Linked DNA regions of Homo sapiens: region 2 is linked to region 1. The links are contacts of gene promoters, found by promoter capture Hi-C in blood cells and fetal thymus (Javierre and others, 2016). All regions are on one chromosome and are shown on one strand. The core of a region is centred on a gene start or on the middle of the fragment in contact, and the rest is flanking DNA. Distances in the headings are between cores, read along the strand shown.

Evidence for each region. The method cuts DNA at HindIII sites, captures the fragments that hold promoters and counts their contacts. A CHiCAGO score of 5 or more calls a contact.
Region 2: a contact is called between a fragment that was not itself captured here and the fragment with the promoter of BRDT in region 1, in 3 of 17 cell types (naive B cells, total CD8 T cells and naive CD4 T cells). The highest score is 5.5, in naive B cells.

The regions. Positions count from the first base shown.
Region 1 is chr1:91,944,055-91,950,848 of GRCh38, forward strand. It overlaps BRDT (bromodomain testis associated), which reads left to right and starts at 5,347. Exons shown (of 19, transcript NM_207189.4): 1 at 5,347-5,628. The HindIII fragment of the contact is 8,652 bases long and covers 3,939-6,794 here.
Region 2 is chr1:91,280,255-91,287,411 of GRCh38, forward strand. The region is part of intron 30 of HFM1 (helicase for meiosis 1); the gene reads right to left. Among named protein-coding and RNA genes, the nearest start is that of HFM1, 120 kb to the right of the region's middle. The HindIII fragment of the contact is 410 bases long and covers 2,529-2,938 here.

The DNA.
Region 1 (6,794 bases), core at 4,097-6,596:
TCTTGGGACATATTCCCTGCAGGTAAGGAAAGATCACTGCATTATGTGGTATAATGAAATATATGTTTAGTCTTTGTCCCCAGTTCCTAGCCCAAATCATCTAAAACCATTGGAATTTCCTGAGTGATAGTAGCTTTTGTTATTCATTACAAGCGCCTTCAATCACACCTCAGTATATGCTAACAAGGTGACTCAGGGTGGGGCCTCTCGATAGCTTCAGGATAAGAGCTGGTCTTTGGAAAAACCAAATACTTGATTAGAGGGTTGGAACTTTCAGTCCCCATCCTCCCCAACCTTGGACCTCCAGGGAGGAGACCGGGCCATGAGCCATGGTGACTCAGGCTTGTAATCCCACCACTTTGAGAGGCCTCAGTGGGAGGATCTCTTGAGGCCAGTAGTTTGAGACCAGCCTGGGTAACATGACAGGACCTTATCTCTACAAAAAAAATAAAAAAAATTAGCCAGGGGTGGTGGTGTGCACTTGTAGTCCCAGCTACTCAGGAGGCTGAAGTGGGAGGATCTGATGGCTTGAGGCCAAGAGGTTGAGGCTACAGTGAGCCTGATTGCACCACTGCACTCCAGCCTGGGTAACAGAGTGAGACCCTGTCTCAAAAAAAAACTCAACAGATTGAGGTGGAAGGATTCCTTGAGGCCAGAAATTCGAGACCAGAGACCAGTCTGGGCAACACGGTGAGACCCTGTCTCTACACCTTTTTTTTTTTTTTTTTCTGAGACGGAGTCTCACTCTGTCACCTAGGCTGGAGTGCAGTGGCATGATCTTGACTCACTAAAACCTCTGCCTCCTGGGTTCAAGCGATTCTCCTGTCTCAGCCTCCTGAGTAGCTGGGATTACAGGCACCCACCACCACGCCCGGCTAATTTTTGTATTTTTAGTAGAGATGGGGTTTCGCCATGTTGGTCAGACTGGTCTTGAACTCCTGGACTCAAATGATCTGCCCGCCTCGGTCTCCCAAAGTGCTGGGATTACAGGCATGAATCACTGCACCCGGCCTATTTTTACTTTTTAAAAAATTTCCTCCTTCTGAGGCAAGAGTGATATTTTTTCATTTTTAGTGATAAACCAGTTGTAAATTTAAATTCTTTAACTCTTAGTTTTGAGGACATTTGTGAATCTATAGTTGCTATGGAGACCAGAAGATGGGTTTCCTTTTGTTGAATCTAATGTTAGATGAAGGATGGAAACTTAAACAACAACAACAACAAAATATATATATATATATATATATATATATATATATATATATATATATATATATATTAATGACAAGGTCCTGCTATATTGCCCAGCTAGAGTGCACAGGCTATTCACAGCTGAGATCCCATTACTGATCAGCACAGGAGTTTTGACCTGCTACATTTCTTTTTGTTGTTGTTTTGTTTTGTTTTGTGATGGAGTCTCACTCTGTCGCCCAAGCTGGAGTGCAGTGGCTCATTCTTGGCTCACTGCAAACTCCACCTCCCGGATTCAAGCAATTCTCGTGCCTCAGCCTCCCAAGTAGCTGGGATTATAGGCGGGCACCATCACATCCAGCTAATTTTTTTATTTTTAGTAGAGACGGGGCTTCACCATGTTGGCTCTGCTGGTCTTGAACTCCTGATGTCAAGTGATCACCCCTCCTTGCCTCCCAAAATGCTGGGATTACAGACATGAGCTACGGTGCCCGGCCAACCTGATCCGTTTCTGACCTGGGTTGGTTCCTCCCTCCTTAGGCAACCCGGTGATCCCCCAATCACTGTGAAGGATGGAAATGTTAAAATGTCTCCAAAGTATGTTCTTGTGATAGCCTGATTTAAATGAAAAATGCATGCTACCTGAAACTCTTTGATGATTTTTTAAAAAATCATAATTACGAGTATTTCCATATGTCATAGAATAGCCTCATAATATCCTAGTCTTCAGCCACTTTCTTTTTTTTTTTTTTTGAGATGGAGTCTCAGTCTGTCGCCCAGGCTGGAATGCAGTGGTGTAATCCTGGCTCACTGCAACCTCCGCCTCCCAGATTCAAGCAATTCTCCTGCCTCAGCCTCCCGAGTAGCTGTGATTACAGGCACCCACCACCACACCTGGCTCATTTTTGTATTTTTAGTAGAGACGGGGTTCACCATGTTGGCCAGGCTGGTCTCAAACTCCTGATCTCAGGCGATCCGCCCACCCCGGCCTCCCAAAATACTGGGATTACAGGCGTGAGCCACTGCGCCCAGCCCACTTTCTTTTCCATATTTTTGAAGCTACTTTCCCCTACCATTTTTCTGTCATACACCCCTGGCAAATCTCAATGCTACTACCTCATTTCTCCACAAACAGTCACCAATTTCTGTGTCTTCACTGTCTCAAGTATGTCTTACTAAATGCACATTTCCAATCAGCTTGTTCTGTTCTCTGTAATAATTATTTAGAAAAATTTCCACTCTCTCCTAACCTCCTTCCTGTCCTTCTTTCCCATCTTTAGCCTAGACTGTATTTTGAACTGGTTAATCAACTTCTTATTCAAAATCTCCACCTAGATATCTTACAGAATATTCAAAACTGAAATAATGATCTTCAACCTTCTAAGACTGATTCCCTTTCAGTAAATGGTGCCATTCTCCAAATGCTCAATGCAACCCAGACCATCTTTACATCTAATCTAATACCAAATCCTAGTGGGGAGGTCTACCTCCCAAATAAACCCATTCTCCATATTCTCCATTTTTGCAGCCATTTCAAGTTAAAAAAAAAAGAAAACAAAAATAACAGAAAACAAAAGAAACTTCAAATCTGGTCTTTTTACTTTCCCCACCCCCTTAATTCAAATCTAATTTGCCAGAGTCATTAAAACCCAGGCAGGGCCTGGTGCAGTGGCTCACGTCTGTAATCCCAGCATTTTGGGAGGCCAAAGCAGGCGAATCATTTGAGGTCAGGAGTTCAAGACCAGCCTAACCAACATGATAAAACCCCATCTCTACTAAAAATACAAAAAAAATTAGCTGGGCGTGGTTGCACATGCCTGTGGTCCCAGCTACTTGGGAGGCTGAGGCAGGAGAATAGCTTGAACCCAGGAGGTGGAGTTTGCAGTGAGCCATGATCATGTCATTGCCCTCCAGCCTGGGTGACAGAGCAAGACCCTGTCTCAAAAAAAAAAAAAAAACAAAAGGCAGGATCGAAGGGTAATTTACTCAATGATAATATACTTTAAAAGTTTTTGATACTTTGCACTTATGGTACATACTGTCTAGTGCAGGAAATAGACATTAAATATACCACTGGCTATACAGTTGTAATTAGTGCTATTTAATTAGGTTGTAATAAGAGTGTTTAACAGGAAGACCTAATCCAGTGGAGGCCCCCTTGAGGAAATGACTTCAGCCTGAGAGTTGAGGAATCAGTGTGGGATCGGAGGAAGGATGAAAGAGCCAATTGTAGAAGCCCAGAGACAAAGGATAGGGTCCTGGAAAGAGCTGAAAGGTCACTGGCTGAAGATGGGGGCACTACTGAAGGTGTAGTTGGAGCTGAAGGCATGTAGGACTTTTTAGCTCATCTTAAGGGGTTTGCTTTTTATCCTAAAAATAATGGAAAGTAATTGAAAGGTTTTAAGGGTGGTAACATGATGAGATTTAGCTTTTTGTTTGTTTGTTTGAGATGCAGTCTCGCCCTGTTGCCCAGGCTGGAGTGCAGTGGCACGATCTCGGCTCACTGCAACCTCCACCTCCCAGGTTCAAGCGATGCTCCTGCCTCAGACTCCTGAGTAGCTGGGATTACAGACCCGTGCCACCACGCCCAGCTAATTTTTGTATTTTTAGTAGAGACAGGGTTTCACCATGTTGGTCAGGCTGGTCTCGAACTCCTGACCTAGTGATCCACCCCTTCCCACCCCCACCCCCAGCCTCCCAAAGTGCTGGGATTACAGGCATGAACCACCGAGCCCAGCCTGAGATTAAGCTTTTTAAAAGATGGTTCAGAAGGCAATGTGGTGGTCTGCACCTACAGTACCTGGAGAGGCTGAGGTAGGAGGATGCTTGAGCTCAGGAGTTCGAGACTACCTTGAGTTATGATTGCATTGCTTCATTCCAGCCTGGGCCACAGAGCAAGACTCAATCTCAAAAAAATCACTCAATCTTCTTTACCTAGAGTGTACATGTCTCCCTGCCACTAATTCTCAAGAGGAAGGTCAAAAAGTTGATAGTTGGGGCAAAATTTGTACTGAGTCATTCCTCTCTTTCATTTCCCTTGACTTCTTTCAGATTTTTCATGATGTGAGAGTCACACCCTAAGTCTGTACCCATCTACTCTTTTCCTGAACAATAAGATAATCTCTATATCTAATCTCTAATCTATTAGAGTTTCACGTTGTTGCTCTGGCTGGCCTTGAAACCTTGGGATTAAGTGAGCCTTCCGCTTTAACCTCCCCAGTAACGGGCATTGCAGGCGCCTGCAGCCACACCATTAATACTACTTTAAACAGCAAAAACAAGAACACGAAAATTAAATCTAAACAAAAAGTGCTTGCCAATCCAGGTATTTATGTGACGTCTAGTAAGTAGATCAAGTGCGTTGCTTTCTTGTGAACACTTGGTTCTTTCCTGCCACATCAAAGTGATTGAATTAAGACGTGTCAAGCTGTTAATGGCCCCCAGACTTCCGCTTCAGGAAACTGGAGATCGATGGTTTTTTGGCCGGATTTGCGAGCAGCTTGTCAGCTGTTTTTGCCCTCCCCTTCCCATCCATCCACTGCGAATGAGTATTAGGAATTCAGAAGCGTTGTTTGCTATTTGATCCTAAGGGAAACTACTGTACTAAATATATTCTTCTGATACATGTTAGCACCTCTAAAGTATCTGCAAACCATCAAGAGGTAGTTGCGAAGACTCAAAATCCTAAATCACGCACTCATCAGTACGCAGCTGTTGCGAAACAGCTCTTAAATTGCCACTTTAAACCCAAAGAGAGTATGTCTCTAGCCTCAGCTGCTACCTAATATTGATCAAGCACTCACTACGTGCAAGAGACAGGAACTGTGGAGAAGGCTGGGGAAAAAAGCGTGAAAACCACGAAAACATCAGAAGCCAAAACTCAAGAACCTCTACTAGGCTAACTGATTAGTGAAAACGTCGTGTTAACAGCAAACGCCTTGAGTGTAGCGCTCCTACTCCTAACCCCCGGCTCTCTACACGGCAATCACCCGAACCCACTCTGCCTGCCCTAACAGGCCTGAGCTGCCCGGCTCAGACTCCTACACCTTTTTTGCACCGCCCGGGGCTGGGTGTGGTCACGTGACAGGTTCAGACCAATGGGCAGGCCGCCCGCGGGGGGTCTTCTATAAAAGCGCCTGTCGCGCGACCGCCATTACAACAAAAACTGGCGGCGAGGAACTGCGGAGAACTGTTGCCCTGCACCGCTTCATTTTGTGCAGCCTGAAAGGGGCAATCACATAAGGTCGGTTTTGTAATATACAGGTAACATACAGGTAATGTACCCTCCACAGGGGGTGCTGCCTTAGGCCGGCCCCGAGGTGCGGCCTTGGGTGGGAACAACCGTTTTTTCCCCCCTCTCCCCTCCCCGACCCCATCAACATCGTGCGACAGTCCGGGCAGTTGAGAAGGCCACCCCGCTTCGTGCCTGCAGCCCAGGTGAGTTGCCAGTCGCTTCCCTTTGGCCTTACCAACTTCAGGCTCGTTGCCCCCAAGGGATCTTTTTCTCTCTCTCCCTCTTTTCCCCTAAATGTCTGGTTTTTCTTCAAGGGAGGGCTGGGAAGGAGGAGGTTGGGGCGAGGGAGTGGGAGGTCCAGTTGTCCAACTGCCTCCTCCCATTTTGAAAAATACTCATGGTCTTTGTAGTTCCTCTTAGGTCTTGGACTGGTGTGGATCGCTGCTGCCTGTACTGTAATTTTGGAAATGCAGGAGAAAGTACGGAGCGTTTAGCTTTAGCTGGCATTTTGTGTTTATTCTGCAAGTGGTCATTTGGGACGGGGAAGTTCGGGTTCTTGCTTCATTTATTTATTCAATTAACTTTATTAAGCCCCTGGAACGTCTGAACCCTCTTTTGGGTACTGCAGGATTGTGGTGGGCTTTACTTCAAGGCGCGCTGGCCTGTATTAAGAATTAAGATAGAGGAGGCCGGGTGCAGTGGCTCGCCCCTGTAATCTCAGCACTTTCGGAGGCCGAGGCAAGTGGATCACCTGAGGTCAGGAGTTCAAGACCAGCCTGGCCAACATAATGAAATGCCCATCTCTACCAAAAATACAAAAATTAGCTGGGTGTGATGGCAGGCGCCTGTAGTCCCAGCTACTCGGGAGGCTGAGGCAGGAGAATCGCTTGAACCCAGGAGGCGGAAGTTGCAGTGCGCCGAGATCACGCCAGTGCACTCCAGCCTGGGCGACAGAGTGAGACTCCGTCTCCCCGCTCCCCCCAAAAAAGAAAGAGGTATGTACAGGGACTTTGGGACTCAAGGGAAAGGCCTGGGTGGATGGGAGGGAATGAGAGAGGCTCTTGGGCAGAAGTGATAACTCGTCTTGATCTTGAGGGACAAATAGAAGTTAGACTAAAAAGTGAGGAGGGAAGTTCAGGTAAAGAGAAGTTTCTCAAAGGCATGGATGTATGTACACCGAGTAGGATGTGACAGTGGATAATTGCTTTTTTTTTTTTTTTTTTTTTTTTAATACAGATAGCTGCTATGGCTGGGCGATCTCAGAGGATCGCCTGAGTCGCTCACGCCTGTAATCCCAGCACTTAGGAGGCCGAGGCGGGTGGATCACCTGAGGTCAGGAGTTTGAGACCAGCCTGGCCGACATGGCGAA
Region 2 (7,157 bases), core at 1,484-3,983, 670 kb before region 1:
GAAATTAGAGTTCAGGCAGAGGGGATAGCATATGCTAAAGCTCTATGACAAGGAAAAGCATGGCACATTGGGGAAACTGAAAGGTCAATATGACTGATGCTAGCAAATATGAGAAAGTATGTAAGATGAGACTATAGTGGTAGTAAAGGCAGCCTATGTTTGTAGGGGAACAGTTCCACCATGGCACCATGGCAATTGCATATCTCCATATAGGCCATGTAGGTAAGACTCAACTGTTGGCAGAATGCCCCATGATCATCCTTAAAAATGGCAAGATAGGTAGTCTTGTGAGGAGCTATCAAAGGCCATTTCACATTTGCTCCATACCTTGCAGAAGACCCTCGATCTTGCAGAAGACTTGCCATGCGGCAGTTTCTCATCTGCCTCCCTGATTCCACTAAGGTATGGAACTTTCCATTTTGCCCCTTTCAGATAAAACTGCTTAGCTGAAGCCTAGAGTTCACTTCTCAAAAACAAAGCAACCCACCACTCATGTTGTCTGTCATCTGACCCCCCTAGTTTGGTATCATCCTGTGGAATTGGGGATGTAAGCAGCTAATACCATGCTGATCTTGCTTTGCCATCTGTGTAAGTAATAAACTGTTTAAATCCATTAGGGTGTCCTTACCAGCCAAATCTACAGAAGTGAGGCAAGACCACATAGCAGCTACCACTACATTGCTGCTTAGGGACTGGTTGACCATGTGACCATATAGAACCTTCTAGGGGATGCTAATGATTTAGATTCTAAGAGCTATGGGAAGCCACTGAAATGTTTTAACCGAAGAGGGGGCACAATCAGATCTGCATTGTGAAAAACGTCACCATATAGAGTGTAATATGGAGAACAGATTTGAGATAAGACAGAAAGGATGCAAGAAAACCAGTACAAGTCTAAGCAGAAATCATGGTAACTCCAGAGTGGTGGTGGTAGTAGAGTTACAGAGAATAGACTGATTTGAGAGATATACAGAAGGTAAAAATATTTTTAATGCAGAATCAAGTGGAGTGGTTTTCTTTCTTGAGCAGCATATTGCTTCCCCTGAAGTTTTGCAGCCTTCCTTTTTGTCTAGCAATATCCATCTTGTTTCTTTAAGTTCACTCAATAGTTGAAGGGTAAAAGCAAATACATGGGAATACCTCACCCATTTATTCCCCCCTCATCAATGCCTCCTTCCTTGAACCCTCTATCTGCCTCCTAATGCAATCTAGACCTGTCCTGTAACTGTCACCTTTGAACTTCCTTTCATTAAGTTCCTGGGCTGAATCTACTACAAATGGATTCTTGGGCTTTTTCTTTCTTGTTTTACTGGTGCTCAATTTTGAGCAACTGCCTAAGAAAGGATGTATAAGAATAAAATTTTCTGAATCTTTGAATGTATTAAGGCATCTTTATATTACTTTCATACTTAGTAGTTTGGCTGGGCATAGAACATAAGGTTGAAAATCATTTTTCCCTTGGAATTTTATTTTTTATTATTACAGTTTTGGAGACAGGGTCTCGCTCTGTCACCCAGGCTGGAGTGCAGGTGTGAGACCACAGCTCACCGCAGCCTCGAACTCTTGGGCGCACGCACTCCTGCCTTCTCATTCTTCCAAGTAGCTGAGATTACAGGCACAAACCACTGTGCCTGGCTTCCCCCTGGAATTTTAAATCAATTGACTTTTAGCATCCAACATTGCTCACTAAAAGACTATTACATTTTTAAATTTTTGTGCCTCGTAAGCATTTACAATTTTGTCTTTATCCACAATGTTCTGAAATATTGCAATTAGCTTTATTTGTAGACCTTTCATTCATCCTAACTAGCATTAAGTAAGACTTTTTAATGTGAAGATTTCTGTCTCACTTCAGTTCTGAAAACGTTTCTCAAATTATTTCTTCTGATTTGTTTGTTCTTTCTTGAACACTTATAAGTTAGATACTGGGTTCTTAAATTGCCCCCCTTTTCTCTTATATTTTCTGTCTCCTTGACTTTTTGCTTTCATTGAGAAGGTATTGACTTTATGTTCGAGACCTCCGGTTTTCCTTCCAAACATAATTTTTGCTTCTCTGTGCTTGCTCTGGTTCTTTTTATTTTAAAATGGCATCCTATTCAGTTTTGTGGTTGCAATTTAATCTTTAATTTCTCGGACGTTACTAAAGTTTTATATTAGGTTTTATTACATTCCTGAATTATCCTGTTGCTCTTTCATCCATTTTCTATTTCCTTATTTTGGACTTTCACACATTCTACATTTTCCTAAAATGTCTCATCACCCTTGGTTGTCTGCCTATAAGGTTCCTATTATATCTCCATTTCACCTATGAGAAAATTAATTCTTACAGAGGTTAAGTAAGATGCTCAAGACTATGCTGTTAGTAAGTAGCAAATTTGAGATTCTAATTCAAGGTAGTCTAATTCCAGAGACTGATCTATCAACAATTCTCTCTCTAGTTGTACCAGTTGCTTTAGCTCTCCCAGAGGATTCATTTAAGTTATTTAGAGAAGGAACCTTTGTTTTGAGGTGGGAAGACTTGGAAGAAAAGCTTTGCAAGTTGCTGTTTTAAAATGAAGAATAAAGAGTTGCCTTTGGGTCTTAAATACTAAAGAACTTCTAAAAAAGATGCATGTCTAAACGCTGCCACAAGGTGGTGCACAATGACTAAGCACATTTGCTCCCAGTGGCAGCAACTAGGATCTGGGACTCTAATTAGAGAGATTCCGAGGGCTCCCAAAAATTTCAAGGCAAAGTTGGCAAGTCTTGTCAGGAATGAGGACTGTATGCAAGTTTTGTTTGTTTGTTTATAGAACACTAGCACATGGATACTACCTGACGAAATCTTTTTGCTGTATTTTTGTTACGAATGGTACTTTGAAAATAAAAGTGCTCCCTTTACCCTGCCGCCCTCCCTACCTCCTGAGAATTGTCTGAATTTATCTTATTAGCAAATATAAGCTTACAGATATTGGTAATTAGAAAGATAAGGTTCTCAGAAAAAAAATAATCTAAGCTGTACTCTTCTGAGAAAAAGTCTGGCTCTATCACCTAGGCAGGAGTGCAGTGGCACCATCACGGCTCACTGAAACTTCAGCCTCCCAGGCTCAAGTGATCCTCCCAACTCAGCCCCCTCAGTAGCTGGGACTACAGGCATGCACCACCACACCCAGCTAATTTTTGTATTTTTTGTAGAGACAGGGTTTGTAAAGACCAGCCATGTTGCCCAGGCTGGTCTCGAACCTGTAAGTTCAAGCAATCCACCCACTTCGGCCTCCCAAAGTGCTGAGACTACAGGTGTGAGTCACTGTGCCCAGCCTAAGCTGCACTCTTAAGTATACTCTAAAGATAGCAGATTCCATATTCCATCACTGTCATAATCTGAGGTGCAAATATTTTCATAGTTTTGCCACATATTGTATTAATTTACATGTTATAAAGTCTCTAGTTCCAAGCATTTAAAGTAAATTTATTAATAATATCAAATAGAAATGTATTGAAAGAAAATACTTAAAATTACTTTAACAGAGTCATTAACAGGTGGCGGGGCAAGGGTCACTTCTTTAAAAAAAGAAGTCCAGACAATAAATAAAAAATAGCAAGAATCTCTGTCACACTTAGCATAACTTTCTAATTATAAATTCAAATAATTTGGTCTGTGCAGAAGCTACTGGAGTATTTTTTTAGTATTACTTTCACTTTTGCAGTTCTCCATTTATGCTAATCATAGATTTATGCAATTCATGGTTTTACTTTTTTTAATGATGAGAGAGTCTCCTTTTCATTTTTCTGTCAAATATTTTACTATCATTTTGTTATTTATTTATGCAGAAAAGGAATACACTGAACTGGAGTCCTTGATTTTGCAACTTAATGCACATACACACCAAAGAATATAAAGAAAAGTAGACTGCCTTTTAACTAGTATTTAAATGTACACACAATGTGCCTGAGGACTGGCTTTATCCTTGTATTCATTCAACTACATTAATTATTATTATTATTATATTATTATTATTTTTTTTTTGAGATAGAGTTTTGCCTTTGTTGCCCAGGCTGGAGTGCAGTGGTGCAATCTCAACTCACTGCAACCTCCGCCCAAGGCTCAAGTGATTCACCTGCCTCAGCCTCCCGAGTAGCTCGTATTACATGGGATTACAGGTGCCTGCCACCATGCCCAGCTAATTTTTGTATTTTTAGTAGAGATGGGGTTTCACCACATTGGCCAGGCTAGTCTGGAATTCCTGACCTCAGGTGATCTGCCTGCCTTCGGCCTCCCAAATTGTTGAGATTACAGGTGTGAGCCACTGTACCTAGCTCCAAGACATTCATATTCAGAATAATACTGCAAATGAAGATAAATGTATTAATGTCAAATAGATTTTCTTCAAATTAAGCAAAGCCTGTAATTCTTATTTAGAATGCATTTAAAGGATAAGAAGTTTAAATGCCTAATCTTCATATACTGAGAGCAGGCCTGAAAATTTTTTAATTTTTGTTTTTACAACTTAAAAATATGTCTCACATTGCCATATATTAAAAATAACAAAAATGTTCTTCCTCAAATTATACAAGAATTTTATCTCTTGGAACTATAACCATATGTGAGAAACTGCAGCTAAAAGAATGTTTTCAAAAAGTTTGATATGGTTTGGCTGTGTCCTCACCCAAATCTCATCTTGATTTGCAGCTCCCATAATTTCCACATGTTGTGGGAGAGACCTGGGGGAGATAATTGAATCATGGGGGCAGTTTCCCCCATACTGTTCTTGTGGTAGTGAATAAGTCTCACAAGATTTGATGATTTTATAAGGGGTCTCTCCTTTCGGCTGGCTCTCATTCTCTCTTGTCTGCCACCATGTAAGACGTGCCTTTCACTTTCTGCCATGATTGTGAGGCCTCCCCAGCCACGTGGAACTGTGAGCCCATCGAACCTCATTTTCTTTATAAATTACCCAGTCTCAGTTATGTCTTTATCAGCAGCATGAAAACGGACTAATATAAGTTGTAGAAAGCATGAAAAGAATTTTTCATTATTTTATATTCCCTAAGGTGCATGTTTTTGTTTTTATATATAGTCCTATAATTTGATGATATACAAAATTGAAACATTTGTTCAACTTGAAAGCATATTTGGAAATAGCCATTTAGCAATTATATTCTCTGAACTAAATATCAGTTTGTATCATTTAATAACACCATTTGACAAGGGATTAGAACAACTGAAATTTGGATTGTTTTGAAAAGGCCCAAATTTGGTGTCACAGCCTTAGTAGGGTAATCTATTGCCCCTTAATTGTGTCAGTTACTAAGAAAGAGTGTATGTATGTTAGGTTTAGAGGTATAATTGTGTATCTTTATCCAGGGATATATAAATTTGCATATAAAAATTGAATTGTACAATACGGATGTGCATAAGTTCCTAAGATTTGGATGATTACATACAGTAGCCCCCTTCATCCATGATTTTGCTTTCCACAGTTTCAGTTACCCAAGGTCAACTCTGGTCCGAAAATATTACATGAAAATTTTCAGAAATAAATATTTCATAAGTTTTAAATTGTACATCATTCTGAGTAGCATGATAGAATCTCAGGCTGTCCCACTTCACTCTGTCCTGGATGTGAATCATTCCTTTGCCCAGCATATCCAGGCTGTATATGCTACCCACCCCTTAGTCACTTGGTAGGTGTCTCAATGATCAAATCGACGGTCATGGTATCACAGTACTTGTGTTCAAGTAACCCTTGTTTTACTTAGTAATGGCCCCAAAGCACAAGAGTAGCAATGCTGGCAATTTGGATGTGCCAAAGAGAAGCTGTAGTTTCCTTTAAGTGAAAAGGTGAAAGTTCTTGACTTAATAAGGAAATTATATATATAGAGTTCAGTACTACCCACAACAGAGAAATATCAGCACCCCTAGAAACTATCTTTCTGTCCTATTCTAGTCAACTTTGTCAAGAGTAATCTTTATCTTGACTTTTAACAGCACAGATTAGTATATTAGTTTTCTAGGGTGGCTATAACAAAGTACCACACACTGGATGGCTTAAAACAACAGAAATTTATTCTTTCACAGTTCTGAAGATTAAAAGTCTGAAATAAGTTGCTGGCAGAGCCATACTCCCTCTGAATTCTCTAGGAGAGGATCCTTCCTCAACTCTTCCAGTTTCTGATAGCTCTAGACATTTCTTGGCTTGTGGGAGCATAACTATAATCTCTGCCTCTGTCTTTGCATGGCTGTCTTTCCTCTGTATTGGTATTCTTATGGAGTTTTCTTGGTGTCTGTGTCTTTTTGCCTTTTCATATAAGGACACCAGTCATATTGGATTAGGATGCAGTCATATTGGATTAGGGTCCACCTTAACTTGATTATATCTGTAAACTCTATTCCAGATAAGATCACATTCACGACCGAGGAGCCAAGATGGCCGAATAGGAACATCTCCAGTCTACAGCTCCCAGTGTGAGCGACGCAGAAGACGGGTGATTTCTGCATTTCCATCTGAGGTACCGGGTTCATCTCACTAGGGAGTGCCAGACAGTGGGCACAGGTCAGTGGGTGCAGTGCACCGTGCGCCAGCCGAAGCAAGGCGAGGCGTTGCCTCACTCGGGAAGCGCAAGGGGTCAGGGAGTTCCCTTTCCTAGTCAAAGAAAGGGGTGACAGACGGCACCTGGAAAATTGGGTCACTCCCACCCGAATACTGCGCTTTTCCGACGGGCTTAAAAAACGGCGCACCACGAGATTATATCCCGCACCTGGCTCAGAGGGTCCTACGCCCACGGAGTCTCGCTGATTGCTAGCACAGCAGTCTGAGATCAAACTGCAAGGCGGCAGCGAGGCTGGGGGAGGGGTGCCCGCCACTGCCCAGGATTGCTTAGGTAAACAAAGCAGCCGGGAAGCTCGAACTGGGTGGAGCCCACCACAGCTCATGGAGGCCTGCCTGCCTCTGTAGGCTCCACCTCTGGGGGCAGCGCACAGGCAAACAAAAAGACAGCAGTAACCTCTGCAGACTTAAATGTCCCTGTCTGACAGCTTTGAAGAGAGCAGTGGTTCTCCCAGCATGCAGCTGGAGATCTGAGAAGGGGCAGACTGCCTCCTCAAGTGAGTCCCTGACCCCTGACCCCCAAGCAGCCTAACTGGGAGGCACCCCCTAGCAGGGGCAGACTGACACCTC